4 separate regions of the Homo sapiens genome follow, and all the other regions are linked to region 1. The links are contacts of gene promoters, found by promoter capture Hi-C in blood cells and fetal thymus (Javierre and others, 2016). All regions are on one chromosome and are shown on one strand. The core of a region is centred on a gene start or on the middle of the fragment in contact, and the rest is flanking DNA. Distances in the headings are between cores, read along the strand shown. Region 1 holds the start of RGMB-AS1 (RGMB antisense RNA 1). Region 2 overlaps SKIC3 (SKI3 subunit of superkiller complex). Region 3 has its middle 5.3 kb from the start of GPR150. Region 4 holds the start of RFESD (Rieske Fe-S domain containing).

The links. The method cuts DNA at HindIII sites, captures the fragments that hold promoters and counts their contacts. A CHiCAGO score of 5 or more calls a contact.
Region 2: a fragment that was not itself captured here is called in contact with the fragment with the promoter of RGMB-AS1 in region 1 in 3 of 17 cell types (activated CD4 T cells, total CD8 T cells and naive CD8 T cells); the score reaches 5.9 in activated CD4 T cells.
Region 3: a fragment that was not itself captured here is called in contact with the fragment with the promoter of RGMB-AS1 in region 1 in 1 of 17 cell types (activated CD4 T cells); the score reaches 7.4 in activated CD4 T cells.
Region 4: a contact is called between the fragment with the promoter of RFESD here and the fragment with the promoter of RGMB-AS1 in region 1, in 5 of 17 cell types (total B cells, non-activated CD4 T cells, total CD4 T cells and 2 more). The highest score is 6.6, in total B cells.

Annotation. Positions count from the first base shown.
Region 1 is chr5:98,770,615-98,774,333 of GRCh38, reverse strand. It overlaps RGMB-AS1 (RGMB antisense RNA 1), which reads left to right and starts at 1,250. Exons shown (of 2, transcript NR_033932.1): 1 at 1,250-1,712; 2 at 3,150-3,719. It overlaps RGMB (repulsive guidance molecule BMP co-receptor b), which reads right to left and starts at 671. Exons shown (of 3, transcript NM_001366508.1): 1 at 128-671. The coding sequence starts at 263. RefSeq lists enhancers at 1-309, 1,045-1,094, 3,473-3,719 and a silencer at 195-824. The HindIII fragment of the contact is 10,132 bases long and covers 1-3,387 here.
Region 2 is chr5:95,544,838-95,548,556 of GRCh38, reverse strand. It overlaps SKIC3 (SKI3 subunit of superkiller complex), which reads left to right. Exons shown (of 43, transcript NM_014639.4): 4 at 1,406-1,496. The coding sequence starts at 1,407. Among named protein-coding and RNA genes, the nearest start is that of SKIC3, 8.3 kb to the left of the region's middle. The HindIII fragment of the contact is 219 bases long and covers 1,859-2,077 here.
Region 3 is chr5:95,612,956-95,616,674 of GRCh38, reverse strand. No RefSeq gene overlaps it. Among named protein-coding and RNA genes, the nearest start is that of GPR150, 5.3 kb to the left of the region's middle. The HindIII fragment of the contact is 4,485 bases long and covers 1-3,719 here.
Region 4 is chr5:95,645,214-95,648,932 of GRCh38, reverse strand. RFESD (Rieske Fe-S domain containing) reads right to left here and starts at 2,156. Exons shown (of 6, transcript NM_001131066.2): 1 at 2,116-2,156. The HindIII fragment of the contact is 4,150 bases long and covers 1,847-3,719 here.

The DNA.
Region 1 (3,719 bases), core at 1-2,500:
CTCGGGAGGCCTTTCCCGTTGCGCCACGCCGCCCTTCCGCCCCGGCGAGCGCCTTCGAGACCTGGGGCTATTTGGGAACAAAGCCCTAGGCCCCGGGGCTGGCTCCCCTCGCGCGCTCCCGTCCTACCTGCGTGGAGCAGCCCGAGGCTGAACAGCAGCAGCAGCAGCAGCTCCAGCGGCGGGGGGCAGAGCCCGGGGCTGCGGCGCTGCTCAACCTCGGCGGCGGCAGCGGCGGCGCTGGAAGGTGCTGCTCTCAAGCCCATGCCCGTCCATGCAGGTCTCGTGGGCTCCGGCGAGGGCGGCGGCGCGGGCGCCGTGGCGGGTCTGGGCCCGTGGCTGCGGCATGGGCCGGGGGGCGCGCTTCGCTTCCTCTTCTTCCTTCTTCAGGCCCGTGTAGCAGATGGGGCGCCACCACCGCCGCAGCAAGCAGCGCGCAGCCGGCGCAGCCAGTCCGCGGCGGCAGCAGCGGGGCGCAGGGGCATCGTGGCGGCCGGAGGCGGCAGGCAGGGAAAGGGGCGGAAGAGAAGACACAAAGACCGTGAGCGACTGCTGAGACGAGTCCCGAGCGCGCCGGCACCCCGGCCCCAGCCAGCGTGGGCTCGGCGGGCGTGGACCTCCAAGAGGCTGGCCCAGCCCTAGCGACCACCCACCGGCGGCCCGGATATCTCTGCGCGGCAGCCCCCGCGGTCGATCAATCTCAGTCCCGCACTGCCGTCCCGCCCCGCCCTGTGCCCGCCAATCCACGACGCCATAATCCCCCGCCGTGTCCCTCCCTTCCTCCCCATTGGTTGTGACCGCACGTCAGCCCGACTCAGCCTGCCAATCGCAGGACCCAGAGGGCCCTCTCCCCCGCCCGCTCAGTGTAATTCGAGTTCCCTGTCCATCGACTCCAAGTCCTCTCTCCTGCGCCGCATGCTGCCTCGCGCTCCCTTTCCTTCCCCCTCTACCCCCTTCCGCGATTTACTGTTTCCTCGCGCCCAACAGAAATGGGCGACCGCAAGTCTTACTCTCGCCGGCGTTACAAAGGTACCGGCCTTTGACCTCTCCTTGAATTAATGTGATCCGATTCATCTTCCCTCCAAGTTTTTTTTTTAATTTAATTACCCCTCCCTGCCCTGGCCCTGCCAGCTTCAGCTCCACCTCCTTGGAGGAAGCAGGCGCTTTTACAGAGCGCCGCGCGGCAGGTCCCCTTTCAGCCAATCACATCTGCGGAACCGCGTTCCGAGTCGTTTGAGGGTGTCTGGTAAAGCAAGCTCGGGGCGGTGTTGGAAATCTGAATGTCACCCGCGGTCCGGAGCAGATAGGATGGGCTGGGAAGGTACCCGCGAACTGCCGCCGGAATTCGCTGGCAGCTGTGCGAGGCTCAGGTGTTCTAGTTTGACATTTCCCTTCCTGAAAGCGGCAAGGAGAGGTCTAAGAGTGGGCAAACTTCAACGTTCGGTTACAGTGTAATTAATGAGAGTGGTGGGTTTTTATGCAGTGTAATTATGCCACGATTTGTTGTTGCTCAGTGGCTTTTTCACAAATTTCTACAGATTATTTAAATTTTCCACAAATTTCTACGGATTAATTCAATGGCAGCTCACTTTCTCCTTTTATGATCGGATGGGTCCGAAAGTGAGGAAAAAGACAATTGTCTACAAAGAAAGAGGCTGCCAAGTGGAGACAGAAAAGCAGTTATGAGACTGATGATAGATTCCAATTTGTTATCGGTAGGTGTGAAGTGGTATCTAATCTCAAGAATGACCTCAAGGCTGAGAGACACTTGATACCGCCCTCGCCTTTGCCTTTCCCCAAACAGCACAGGGTTGCCATTTAAAATCCACTAACATCCAAATCGTAGTTGGCAACTGTACCCGCTATGTTACTCAGAATCTCTAATTAGGAATTTCTTATCAACCACGGACATGCTGATATTCCACACATGTTTAAATGAGCTAATCAATGGACTAGGATAATTGAGGGGCAAACCTTCAGTCTCACCAGCTCACTTATTAGACACATTTTGAATTGCCCAAACCACTAGGTCCCTAATGAAGGATGCCTATCTGTTTTTACTGTAACTTTTCATTACTTACTTGTTACATACTATGATGACTTAAGGGGTAAACACACCTTTCACTATCCACAATATAATCCAAGCCTGTGTATATCCATAATACGCTTAATAATAGCTTCACAGTTGCCTGGAGAAATGACTTTTGGGGAGGAAGTTATATGACATTTTTAGATAATGCTGCGGACTAAGTATTATTAGAGCAAAAATTTACTATCTTGCAATTACTTCATATAATTAGATACAGTTCATGACATACTAAGAAGCATCTTAAAAAAGTAATCAAACATAATACTGATTTTCAAAGTATTTGGCTAACAAAGACTACATTTTTTTCTCTTAACCCAAGATTTAATTCGACCCCTATAAAAGCAGCATCTCACTTTATTGATCATACTTCAAAGCATATACTCAATAGTTAAGGATCAATAATTTCTGTTTGGTTTGGGTCTTTCCACTCGTGACTTTCTATGATTTTTTACTCCCCTCCCCCTATATCCTGTTCCATAAGTACACGGGTGCTCTAGATTTTCCTATCAATAGAGGGCGTCCTCGAGTCATTGCAAATCCTGGTGTCGTTAAACGGAACTGTTCTTCAGAGGAAAAACTTCATCTCTATAAGGTGCTTTATTGCTCCTCTGTTGTAAAATTTGACAAGCTCGAGATTTATAAGCCTAACAATTCACTTTTTATTGCTGCATAAGTGTTCAGCCGCTAGAGGAAAATGCTAATTTTCACAAGTAAACCGCAAGGTGGTTCCTATTTTCAAGACATAGGTCAGTTGACACACTCGCGGGTAAATTCGTACTGTTCACAAGATCAGGAATTGGCTTGGAAAGCAAGAGCGTAGTGAATAGTCGCTTATACCGCAGCCACTCCTCAAGCCCGTGAGCTGCAAGTTACAAACGACTTTATATTGTACAAAGAAAAATCGGGGAGGGAGCTAGAACACAAACAAAAAAATCGGTGACTTATAAAAGTTTTATGTTTTAATCAGAAAAAAAATCATGAAGTGGCTGATGACTTGTGTAATTCACACATCCACCCTGTTTCTTGCCACTGGTACTCTTTCTCCCTTTCTCTTTGTTTTCAGAAAGGAAGGAGGAGACCTGAACAGTACATCCGGAGAATCCAGCAAAGCATACTACGGCATGAACGTGCAAGTGGACAGAATTAAAACACATGCCAGAAACACTAATGGATTCTAAACAAGATGCAGTTTCATTTCCTGAGCCTATACGTGATGTTTTTAACTGTTCTCCAGTTAATATGTCTCCATTTCCAGAAATCTAACAGGAGAATCTCTGACTGCTTAACAGATCACCTAAGCTTGCGATTTGTGCAATCCTTTCTAGAGTAAGGGCTCCCCGGCTGCTCCCCGGCCACTGTGTACCCAAAGCAGCGGCTGAAATAGCCCGGAGTCCAACAGCTCAGCGTCAAGCAGCTCGTGGTTTGTACTTACATCATTTTTTTTTTCAGAGCAAGAGTGAAAGTTTATTAAAAAGCGTTAGAACAGTAAGGAAAGGAAAGGAGAGAAAATAAGGAAAGTACAACTTGGAAGAGGGCCAAGCGGGCGACTTGAGAAATCAAGTGCCTGTACTTACATCATTCTTAACCCTTTCGCTCCTGGAGGGGGCTCAGCGGGATCAGGGGGCCCCTGAAC
Region 2 (3,719 bases), core at 719-3,218, 3.2 Mb after region 1:
GTAGTTTCTAAAGCAAGAACATATGAAATATGGTGCTTTAAATTATATAATTATTGTAACTAGGCAAAAAAGTTACTTATCTGCCTATTTAGGGAATCTGGTTCTAGCTGTAGATAAATTGATTTTATGGTATCTTAATTTTTCTATTATTTTGAATCCTAACATTTTTTAAGTCAAAAAGATTAAAAAATATGTATCTAACTTCTCAAACTTCTTTGGTCTCATACTTCTGTGTTAGCTTCTTCTTTGGATATAAAGGACTGTCAGTGTACCATGTCAGTGATTCATCTTTTTGGTACATTTTACTCCCTTGAGCATCTGAAGCCTATAAATACTTAATATTTACCCCAGCTTTGTTTTACCTTTCTATGAGATTAGAGGAGCTGACAGAAAATACAAATATTTCTTTTTTTCAACATTGAATTATGATTGAATTAGACTTGTTTATAGGTAAGCCAGAATAAGTTGTGTAATCTTAAAATATGCTAATTTATTTAAAATTAATATATCTTAAGACTAAATGAAGAAATACTTTCTCTACTAATTAAAATATCTTTTTATGGCTGAAATTAGTATACAACCCTTTTGCATTATCCATTGCTTCCATTCAAGTTTAAACATTGTTTTTCTTTAGAAAAAGTACAGGTAATAAACCTACAGTAATCCTTATTGTGAAGAAAGTTAATATCTTGATTTATGTTTCACAGAAACTAGCATTAAAACAATGCTTTCTTAAACTTTCATATCACAGTCACTGAAATTATTTGTGTTAGTGTTTTATCTGTGACTTGGGCTTATTCTACTGGATCTAGCTTTGTATAGAGTGGGAGAGTTGGATTGAGATTGGTATGTGTTTTGAGTCCTGATCAACAAGATCATTTGTATTTTAGCCAAAATATATAGAGAATGAATGTAAATAAAATATAACTCAATTTCAACACTTATTAATTGATCATCTATAATTTAAGATACTAGGTCCTGGGGATGCGGCAGTGAAAAAAAAAATTCTTGCCTGCATGGAACTTAGCTTCTTGTGGGGTTGGGACCCAGAAAATAAACAGGATAAATAAGTAGAATATATAGTATATTAAATGTGACAAATGCTTTCAAGAAAAATAAAGCAATGGAAGGGGTTCCGGAAATAATGGGTTGTTGAGAGTAGGGGGATGGCAAGATTAAAATGTTAAATAGCATGTCAAAGGAAGGTTTCATTGAGGAAGTGACATTTGAGTACAGATCTGAAGAGGTTAAGGAATAAACTGTGTATATTCTAGAGGGAAGACTGTTCCAGAGAGAAGGAGTCTTTTCCTTTTCCAGGGTCCCTTTTCAGATGGCTAAGTTTGTTGGAACATTTACGATTGGGTAGGTATTACTGTAGATTTACTCAGGCTTTCTGCCTTGACAGAATGTCCAGCAAGGAAGTGAAGACTGCTCTAAAAAGTGCTAGAGATGCAATCAGAAACAAAGAATACAAAGAAGCTTTGAAACACTGTAAGGTAACCAGTATTTTTTTCTTCCACAATGAAAGTATGTTACCCATTTATAAACATTGTTGATTTGTAATATGTGAATTATTTCCTGTCCAAACAGCAAAAGTGGTAAGGCCATTTAGTAGAACCATTAGAATGGTTGGACTTTTAACCTCTAGTTAGCAGGATAAACTACCTCTGCCAAACTTAACTTTCTCTGTATTGGTAACTTAACAAAACCAAGTTCTTAAAACCTGAATATCCCATAAATATCTTTTGATGGTTGTATCGTGGAATGCTACTGTATCTTAAAGTTTTCATTGTTTAATGGCATGTTAGTGTTCTATTTCTATTTGGTTTGTGGATGAGAGGACCAAGATTATAAAGCTTATTTTTATGCTGATGGGTATGATTCCATTCAGAGGGAGAAATTGGACTCGGGGGAGAGACAGAGGGTAGTGGTAGGAGTGAAGTCATCAGTAGGTGAGAGACACACTGGGATCCAGAGCTTGAGGGAGCCCTTTAATCCTTCTTCCATCTTAGCAGGAGAGAAGATAGGTGCCCATCCATACAGTGTTGGGCTTATAGATTTGGTGTTGGGAAAAGCTTTCTTCTCTAATGGCTTCTATTTTCTTGGCAAAGTATAAGATGAGACTGGGAGAAGACTTGGTTATTGGTTAGGAGGTTTGAGATAGCAGAAGGTATGAAATAGTTTCTTTCTTTGTTTTTTTTTTTGTTTTTTTTTTTTCTCATGGTGGGAAAAGAAACTTGCTAGTAAGGATTGGAAAGATTAGCAGGCCCTAGTGATTGCCCATTTGAAGTTTCAAGCTATTAAAGTGAAATTAGTGAACTCCGCTGTAGTTTTTCTCTTTGTATTCAGTTTCTCAGGTTTGGAGATGGGCATGATGGGGTTCAAGTATGGATGGAGAGAAAGAAGAAAGGAAAGACATGCAAAGGAAAGACATGACAAGGGAGTGATGACAGTGGTGAGCCCTGGAGTCTAAGCTGGGTAAAGAGGAATGAGAAATGAGAGGTGGGCTGATAGGCAATGGAAAAAGCGTTTAGGATAGAAAAAATTAGAGAAACCAAAGGTTAAAGATTTGTTACCATGGGACCACTACAGTAATTGAACTGGGACGGTTAGAGAGGAGCAGAATAGTACTGTGCTGGAAATTCAGATTTTGGATGGGTGAGTAGTGTGGTGGTCACATAACTGAGAGGCCAGAGTGTTCAACGGGATATCAACATGAATACAGGCACTGAGGTGGAAAAGAAGGATACAGAATTTTCACTGAAGGAAAGGGGAATTAGGAAGGTGGTAGACTGTAGCAACAAGAAGGCTATTTTTAGTAGTATAGTTGGATGGCCTGAGCTTCAAAGGTAGTGGGGTTGCTGAAGGAGGAAGGAGCAGTAGAGGACTGTAGGTGACAGACAGTGTGAGCAAGAAGCAGTTTCTCACCTTCTAGGCCTGTGGCATGTGAGCTGTAAAAGAAGTCATCTGCAATCTGTAGGATGTATAGGGGAATTAGCCATGTTTTCATTGAGGCAGAACTTGGTGTGGTTAAAAGAAAGGTTAAAAATATGGAAGGAACTTGGCTGACCCAGATTGGGAGTTCCAGAGGGCACAATGAAGAATTTAGGAGAGTGGTAGGGAGGGAATTGGGCAAGACTGGGCAGTATACATGGCAATATGAGGATGAGTCTAAGGAGTAAACAGGTAAAGGATACCCTTGTGAGGTTTAGGTTTCTGGTGGTGACTGATGGAGCCCAGCAGGGATGCAAGGACGTGATAGTATTAATCTTGATATAGAAGAAGGTGGGCAGTGTGTTCCAAGTGGGGACAGGTTGTGGATGGAATACAAGAAGGGAAGAAGGACTGTTTCCTTCAGCACTAGGTTTATCTAATTGATGCACGTTTCAGTTATATACAGCACCACCATAGCTGTCTTCTTCCTGTAGACTTTCTGCAAAATTCAGATATTAATTCCACCAAATAGTTAATAATTTATACTAGAGAGACCCAATTAGAAAATGCAAATGGATAGCTAATCAGTTATAAATGCCTGATTACTAATGTGTAGTAACCCAGAATATTGGTTGAGACTAAATGAATTTTTGAGTAAAGGAATGTTGCATTTGCTGTGGTTTTGTCTGATCATCACCTTGTCTGCCTGTGGCGCTTTATCACATGGTATGAGTATCCCTTCAGGGAAGCCTTCTCCAGTTTATGCAGAGTTCGGTACTTTTTTC
Region 3 (3,719 bases), core at 896-3,395, 3.2 Mb after region 1:
TATTTGATTGTAATACTTATTTAGTGGCCTTTACCTAAATAGCCTCCCAGCCTGTCTTTTTCTTTTTGGGATGCTGACATTTGAAGAGTCCATGACACATGTTTAGCGGAATATCCTTAAAATTGTATTTGTTTCCACATAATTAAATTTGGATTTGACTTTTCTGGCAGGAACATTACATAGGTAATACTGTCAAAAGTGTATCATTTCTGGGGTGCATAATGCCACTTTGTCTCAATATAAATGTTGTCTCAATATAGATGATATTAAGTTTGGCATATATGTTTTGAAAACTCAGTAGTTTTTAATTAAATAAGCAGTACATATTAATTGCAGAAAAATTAGACAATGCATATTCACATACAAAAAACACTTAACATACTGCTCAAAAAAACCTGTTGTTAATACTCAGTGATATATATTTCAGGCTATAATGACTAGATCTGTATATTACAGAAATAGATTACACTGCATACAACATTTTATATCCTGCTTTCATTTCACCTAAGATTGTATTTGGATCACTTCCCATGTCAGTGATAATATGATATAATTATCTGTTTAATGTTGAATGGATTACAATTATTTAAATAGCCCCCTATTTTTAGACAAAAGTTTTTCTCATTTTCACTTTATAAATAATTCTGTGAAGAACATCTCTTCACCTACATCCTAGCACATGCATTCAATTATTCCCTTATGATAAAATCCTGTCATTGGAATTGCTGAGGCTGAGCACGTGCATTTTTAATGCATTTTAACATATAGTACTGAGTTATTCTCAACAAGGGATGCAAGCAATGTATGTGTCTTTTTCCCCATAGCCCCAACAATATGAGCATCATCAGCGTTTGTCATTCTCATAGATGAAAACACTTCATTATTTCTTCATTTTAAAAATTGAGATATACTTTATATATCATAAAATCTAGAATTTTAAAGTATACAATTCAGTGCTTTTTAGTATATTTACAAGTTTGTGCAACCACTGCCACTATCTAATTCCAGAACTTTTAAATCATTCCCAAAATAAACCCGTACACATTATTTTCCTCTTCCAGCACCTAGAAACCACTAGTCTCCTTTGACTCTATGGATTTGGTTATTCTTGACATTTCATAGAAATGCAATCACATAATGTAGCCTTTTGTTTTTGGTTTCTTTTGCTTTGAATAATGTTTTTAAGTTTCATCCACATTGTAGTATGTAACAGTATTTCATTATTTATGGCTAAATAATATTTCATTATGTGGATACACCAAATTTTGTTTATCCATTCATCAGCTGATGGATATTTGGGTTGTTTCTATTTTAGGCTGTTTCCATTTTGGTTGTTTTCATTATAGTGAACAATTCTGTTATGAATATTTGTGTACAAGTTTTTCTGCGAATGCCTGTTTCAGTTCTCTAGAGTATATTCCTAGGTGTGAAATTGCTGAGTCATATGTGAATTTCATGTTTAACTTTTTGAGGAACTGCCAAGCTGTTTTCCATAGAGACTGGGCCCTTCCCACCATCATTGTATGAGTTTTCCAGTTTCTCCCTTTGCGTAGATGCAGTTTCTCATTTGAGATCATATTCCTTCTGCTTAAAGAATGTCCTTTAACATTTCTTATAGTTCAGATCTGCTGGCAACACATTCTCTTAGTTTTCTTTTTTTTTTTTTCTGTCTTATAAAGTTTTTATTTTACCTACATTTTTGAAAGATACTTTTGCTGGGCATATAGGATTCTATGATGAGTTTTTCTTTCAGTACTTGAAAGAAGTTGCACCATTGTCTTCTAGTTTGCATAGTGCTTGATACATTTTGCTCATCTTTGTAATGATGTAATTCTTATCTTTTTGTTTGTTTATTTGTTTGAGACAGAGTCTTGCTCTGTCGCCCAGGCTGGAGTGCAGTGGTGCAATCTTGGCTCGCTGCAACCTCTGCCTCCCGGGTTCAAATGATTCTCATGCCTCAGCCTCCCAAGTAGCTGGGATTACAGGTGAGTGCCACACGCGGCCAGGCTGGTCTCGAACTCCTGGCCTCAGGTGATCTGCCCAGCTATGCCTCCTAAAGTGCTGAGATTACAGGCATGAGCCACCGTGCCTGGCTGGTTTCTTTTTTTGGAGTGTTTCTTTTTTTCTGTGGTTGCATTCAAGATTTTCCCCTTATCTTGCCTCACTGCAACCTCTGCCACCTGGGTTCAAGTGATTCCCATGCCTCAGCCTCCCAAGTAGCTGGGACTACAGTCATGCACCACCATATCCATCTAATTTTTGTATTTTTATTAGAGATGGGGTTTCACCATGTTGGCCAGGCTGATCTCAAACTCTTGACCTCAGGTGATCCACCCGCCTTGGCCTCTCAAAATGTTGGGATTACAAGCATGAGCCACCGGGCCTAGCCCTTTGTATATATTCTGCTTGGGCTTCTCTAAACATTTAGGTTGGTGATTTGTTGTCTTTTATTAATTTTGGAAAATTCTCAGCAATTATCTTTTCAATTATTTCTTCCGACCTTTTATCTCTTTCTATTCTCCTTCTGTGACTTGAATTACATGTATATTATGCCATTTCATACTGTCCCACAGCTCTTGGATGCTCTATTTTTCTCCACTTTTTCTTTTTCTCTTTTTTCCCCTCTCTGTTCCAGCTCTCCTCAGAGGGGCTTGCCACCTTTTGAAATTCAGGATTTTATTTTGAAAATTTTCTATTCTAACCTGTAGTCAAGTTTACTAATTCTTTCTTCTATCTCTAGTCTGCTGATAAGGCAATTGAAGGAATTCCTCATCCATAATAACATGTTTTTCATGTCTAGTGTATCCAATTTATTCTTTTTTGAATCATTTCCATCTCTGCTGAAATTCTGTATATGTTCGTGCATGTGGTCCACATTTTCCACTAAATCCTTTAACATATTAATCATAGCATTTTTACAGTTACTTTGACAGTTTCAACCTCTGGGCCATCTCTCAGTCTGGTTCTGTTTACTGCTTTATCTCTTGAAAATTGGCTTCTTTTTTTTTTTTCTTTTTAACTCTTTTGCCTTGTAAGTTTTACTGAGTGCCAGACATTATATATAAAAGAATAAGAGTGACTGATGTAAATAGTGTTTACTTCTGAAAATGGCCATGCCTCTTCACTCATCAGGCTACTAGGGTGGTAAATCTAATCAGTAGTTGAGCTAGGTTTAGATTTTGTTGTTACTACAGTTATCATTATTATACTGTTGACTTCATATTCCTCCATACTGACATCTTGCGTTTCAACTATGAGGCCTGGAATGGTAGAAGGTTTTTCTCAGTGTTTCTGCTCCATCCCCAACTTTCAGCTGGCCCTTCACACTTGGCCACCAGAGTGGGGGAGGGGACGGGGATGTTTCTTTCCAGGCTTTGGCCCCTCTCCCAGAAGTTCTGTGCTGTTTGCTGCCCATGATGGGGGCAGGGTGGCTTTCTTGGCCTTCCTGTTCCAACCTTTGTCTTATTCAGGCCCTGGGGGCCTGAGCCTCAAGTGTGGGAGTTTCTCCATAATCCTGTCCCTTCCCTCTATGGCAGCTGAATTCTGTCTTGTAACTTCCAAGAGCAAATTTCTTGGTTCTGTCCCTTTTGTGAGAAACCTTTGCTTTGTAACAAAGATTCTGGGCATGAATAGGTTTCTCCATCTTGCTTAGCAGTGATAGCTTTCGCTGTAATCTACCCCTCCCCAGTGACAGCTGACCTTTTGCTGAGGACTGGGGG
Region 4 (3,719 bases), core at 907-3,406, 3.1 Mb after region 1:
GTTGTTTTCCTCCAGGCCAAAAAAAAAAAAAAAAAAAAAAGCACTACTATCAAAAAGTAACGAAATACAAGAGATGTAGTATAATATCAAAAGTTAATTATGTTTTCCCAACTCCCAAATAAATGAGAACCAAATACAGGTCTTTCTCAAATTTGAGTCACTACAAACTTACAGTTTTTGCAAGGTTTGCCTCCAACCCGACAAACTGGTGAACTTTTACGGGACTGATAAAAAAGGAGCAGAGAAGACTGGGGCTAAATGATAAAGGTTTCAGAGAACTATGATTATGGCTGTGCATTTTGCTTAGAAAAGTATAATTTTATATGTCAAATAATAGTTTCCTCTATGTATCTTAAATGGTACTATTTATACTATTTGAGGACTTTTTACATTTAACACCCATATTATTCTTACTATTGTGAATATCATGATCCATTCACACAATAGGGAAAGCCCACGTGTTCACCTTAATTATCGTTATTTTGATGAACTATTCATAAACTCCCAATATGTTTCGATTTTAAGTCTACTTTAAGATAATAGAATCTTAACTGAATGAAACAGAAAATTAAACAACTCATACAGTTTGACGGCTAGTTGAAAACATCCCCCTGAAAAACTTAGTCGTTGTGTTTCATGTTCTCTTCGAGAAAAATTTTTGGCCTGTCCCTAAAATTGGTTTCTAAAGGTGCTAACTCCATATAAAATTACAAATTAGCTAAATGGATACTCGGTCACTATTAGATTCCTTTCCAACAAAGGAAATAAATTCAAGTGGAATTTAAAAAAATATTTAGTGTAACTCAAATTTCCACAAGACACGGGAGATAAAAGAAACATGAAGTGAAACGTACTTACTTGTCACTCGTCTTGAACCATGACTAAGATGCTTTTACCAAGTGTGGAAACTTTGCCTACACATTATCAGAATGCTTATCTCAAGTATGACACCCTTGCTTTTACATGCAGGGAAGAGAAATGCCTTAGAGAGTAGTTTTGGTATCTCTCTGAATGGCAGAATAATAACAGATAAAACTAGCTGTCCTTTAGTAAATGCCTACTGCTTGGACCCTTTGAATATAATAGTTCATTAGTCTTCACAAAACCGCCAACGGGTAGGCATTAGTTTTATTCAGGTAGCACCCACGTTTTTATAAAAACATGAGGCTTGCAAGTAAACTATCCTGAAGACACAGAAACCTTTTAGCAAAGCAAATATGTATATTGGTGATATATATAGTATTGATATTTATATTTGTCACCAAAGATGGTCCTGAATTAAAAAAAAAAAGGAACGCTAATGTGCAACAGCTATGTTCACGAATGTTTACAATTGAACGCTTGCCCAATAATTTTATATAAAGTCACAGAGCTGCTCTGGAAATCAGCACCATCGTATGATGTTGAATTGTGATCACGAGTGAGCTAGACCTGGGTTTGCATCCCAGTTCTGCGTGATTTGGGGCAAGTTGCTTAACTTCGCTGTGCTGCAGTTTCTTTTACTTTAAGAAGGGCCCGCCACATAGGGGTGTGGGTAAAGCACATAAATGCTTTAACACATGTCAAATGTTTAGAGCAGGCCTAACCGCAGAAAACGCTCACAGCGCGTTAGCTGGCACCTCTAAGGTCCATCCAGCTCTGGCAGTTATCCTGCCTAACTTCAAGTTGTGTTTAACATTTCGGTAAAGACCGCCTGCAGTTCTGAGACTGCACGTGGCTGTCCAGGTGCTGCAAATTCTCGACACAGACTCCAGGAGGCGAGTATCTCCAGGACGGCCGGGGCTGCGGAAGCCCTGGAGCAGCTTCTATACTTTAGAGCTTTCATGGCACAAATGCCATGAAAGCTTGTTAAAAACGACCCGCGTACCCCCCTTAGGTGGCAGGTCTCAGGTGTGGCCCAAGTTTCAAGGTGAACAAGCTCGGTGAGTCTCCTGTGCCTGGGCGGAAGCCCGCCTTGGCGGGTTAACCGTTAACTAACGCTGAACCAAAACCCAAGAGGGCCTCAGGCCCCGCAGCGGCGCGGCCACAGCCGGAATGAGGAGTCCACGCCCGCAGCCCAGCCGGAAGCAGCTGGTCCCGCCAGCCCGCCCCCTGCGCGGCGAGAACAGAACTTACTGTCCCCGAGTCCTCGCTCCGCCTCCGCGTGACGCTACTGCACGAGCCAGAGCTCCAGACGTGCGCGGCGCCTCGACGGGGGCGGGGCGAGGCCGTCCACGTGACCCAAGAAGGCCCGCCCCCGGGACCGCCTCTATGGCATTGCCGGCAGATGACCCTGGTTGATAGAGATCTCTGGCCAACAGCGCCGCGCCAGCACCTTCAAACTGGCAGGCATACTCGTGTACTTGACAAATGTGGATAGCATCAGTTTACTTTTTAGTTGTTTGTTGATCTCATTACATTTATTCAAATTTTAGATGCGCCCAGCGACTTCATTCAGTTATTTACCCTATAAAAATATTTGCAGAAGGTCGTCGCGATGCTGGTAACCCATGTATAAGGATGTTAAGGCCGGGCGCGGTGGTTCACGCCTGTAATCCCAGTACTTTGGGAGGCCGAGGCGGGCGAATCACCTGAGGTCGGGAGTTTGAGACCAGCCTGACCAACATGGAGAAACCCCATCTCTACTAAAAATACAAAATTAGCCGGGCGTGGTGGCCCAGGCCTGTAATCGCAGGTACTCAGGAGGCTGAGGCAGGAGAATCGCTTTGAATCCAGGAGGCAGAGGTTGCGGTGAGCCGAGATCGCGCCGTTGCACTCCAGCCTGGACAACACGAGCGAAACTCCATCTCAAAAAAAAAAAAAATGTTTATTGCTGTGAAGTAGTGAAAATAGCTGAAGTGATAACACGGAGGAATGGTTCAATAAAACACAGCACAACAGTACAGACATGTGAATTACTTCGTAGCTGTGTACTGTATACTCAAAGGACAGGCCCATCATGTAATGAATATTAAAGGCAAAGCGTAGAATACTATATATGGTGTCCTCTCTTTAATGTAAACAATTATTTTTTGAAATACAAACATGCAGGTATGTACATAAACTTTTTCTCGAAAAATCAAAAGAAACAATAGTGGTTGCTTTGGGAGGAGATGGAGAGTTTTCACTTTCATATTATGAACTTTGCAATTTTGCTTTTTTCTCATTGTACTTCCCTGAATTGACAACAACAACAACAAAGAAAACCACCAAAACCCTCATATTTGTGTTCCGAGCTGGGAAACTAGATGAGCCTAAGTTTTTAATTTCCTTGACTACTTTCCAGTGCAGTGATTCTTAACCCTGGCTATGCCTTAGAGTCGCTTGGGAGTTTTGAAAAGTCGTAATGCCCAGTCTGTATGCCAGACCAACAAAATAAAACACAGATTATTTGGGGTGGGAAGGGAGTGGGCAGATTCAATGTATGTTTTTAACTTCCTGAGTGATTCCAGTGTGAACCCAAGGTTGAACACTACAACTTGTATTTAGTATGGTGACATAGTGATCTCAGGCTCTAGGGTGGCCCAATGAACTGGGGCAGCCGAAACCCAGGAACTTTGTCCATTTACCTCAGTGTGCTATATAAATGCCATTTTTTAAATGAGCCTCAACATGTAAGAAGTTGAATAGCTCAGAATAATTTGTTTCCAGTGCTAGTTTCTTCTGTTTTTTTTCTCTTCAATACAGTTTTATGGTGATCAATAATATTTTATTGGGTCATTTCCCTTTTGGCCATTTTT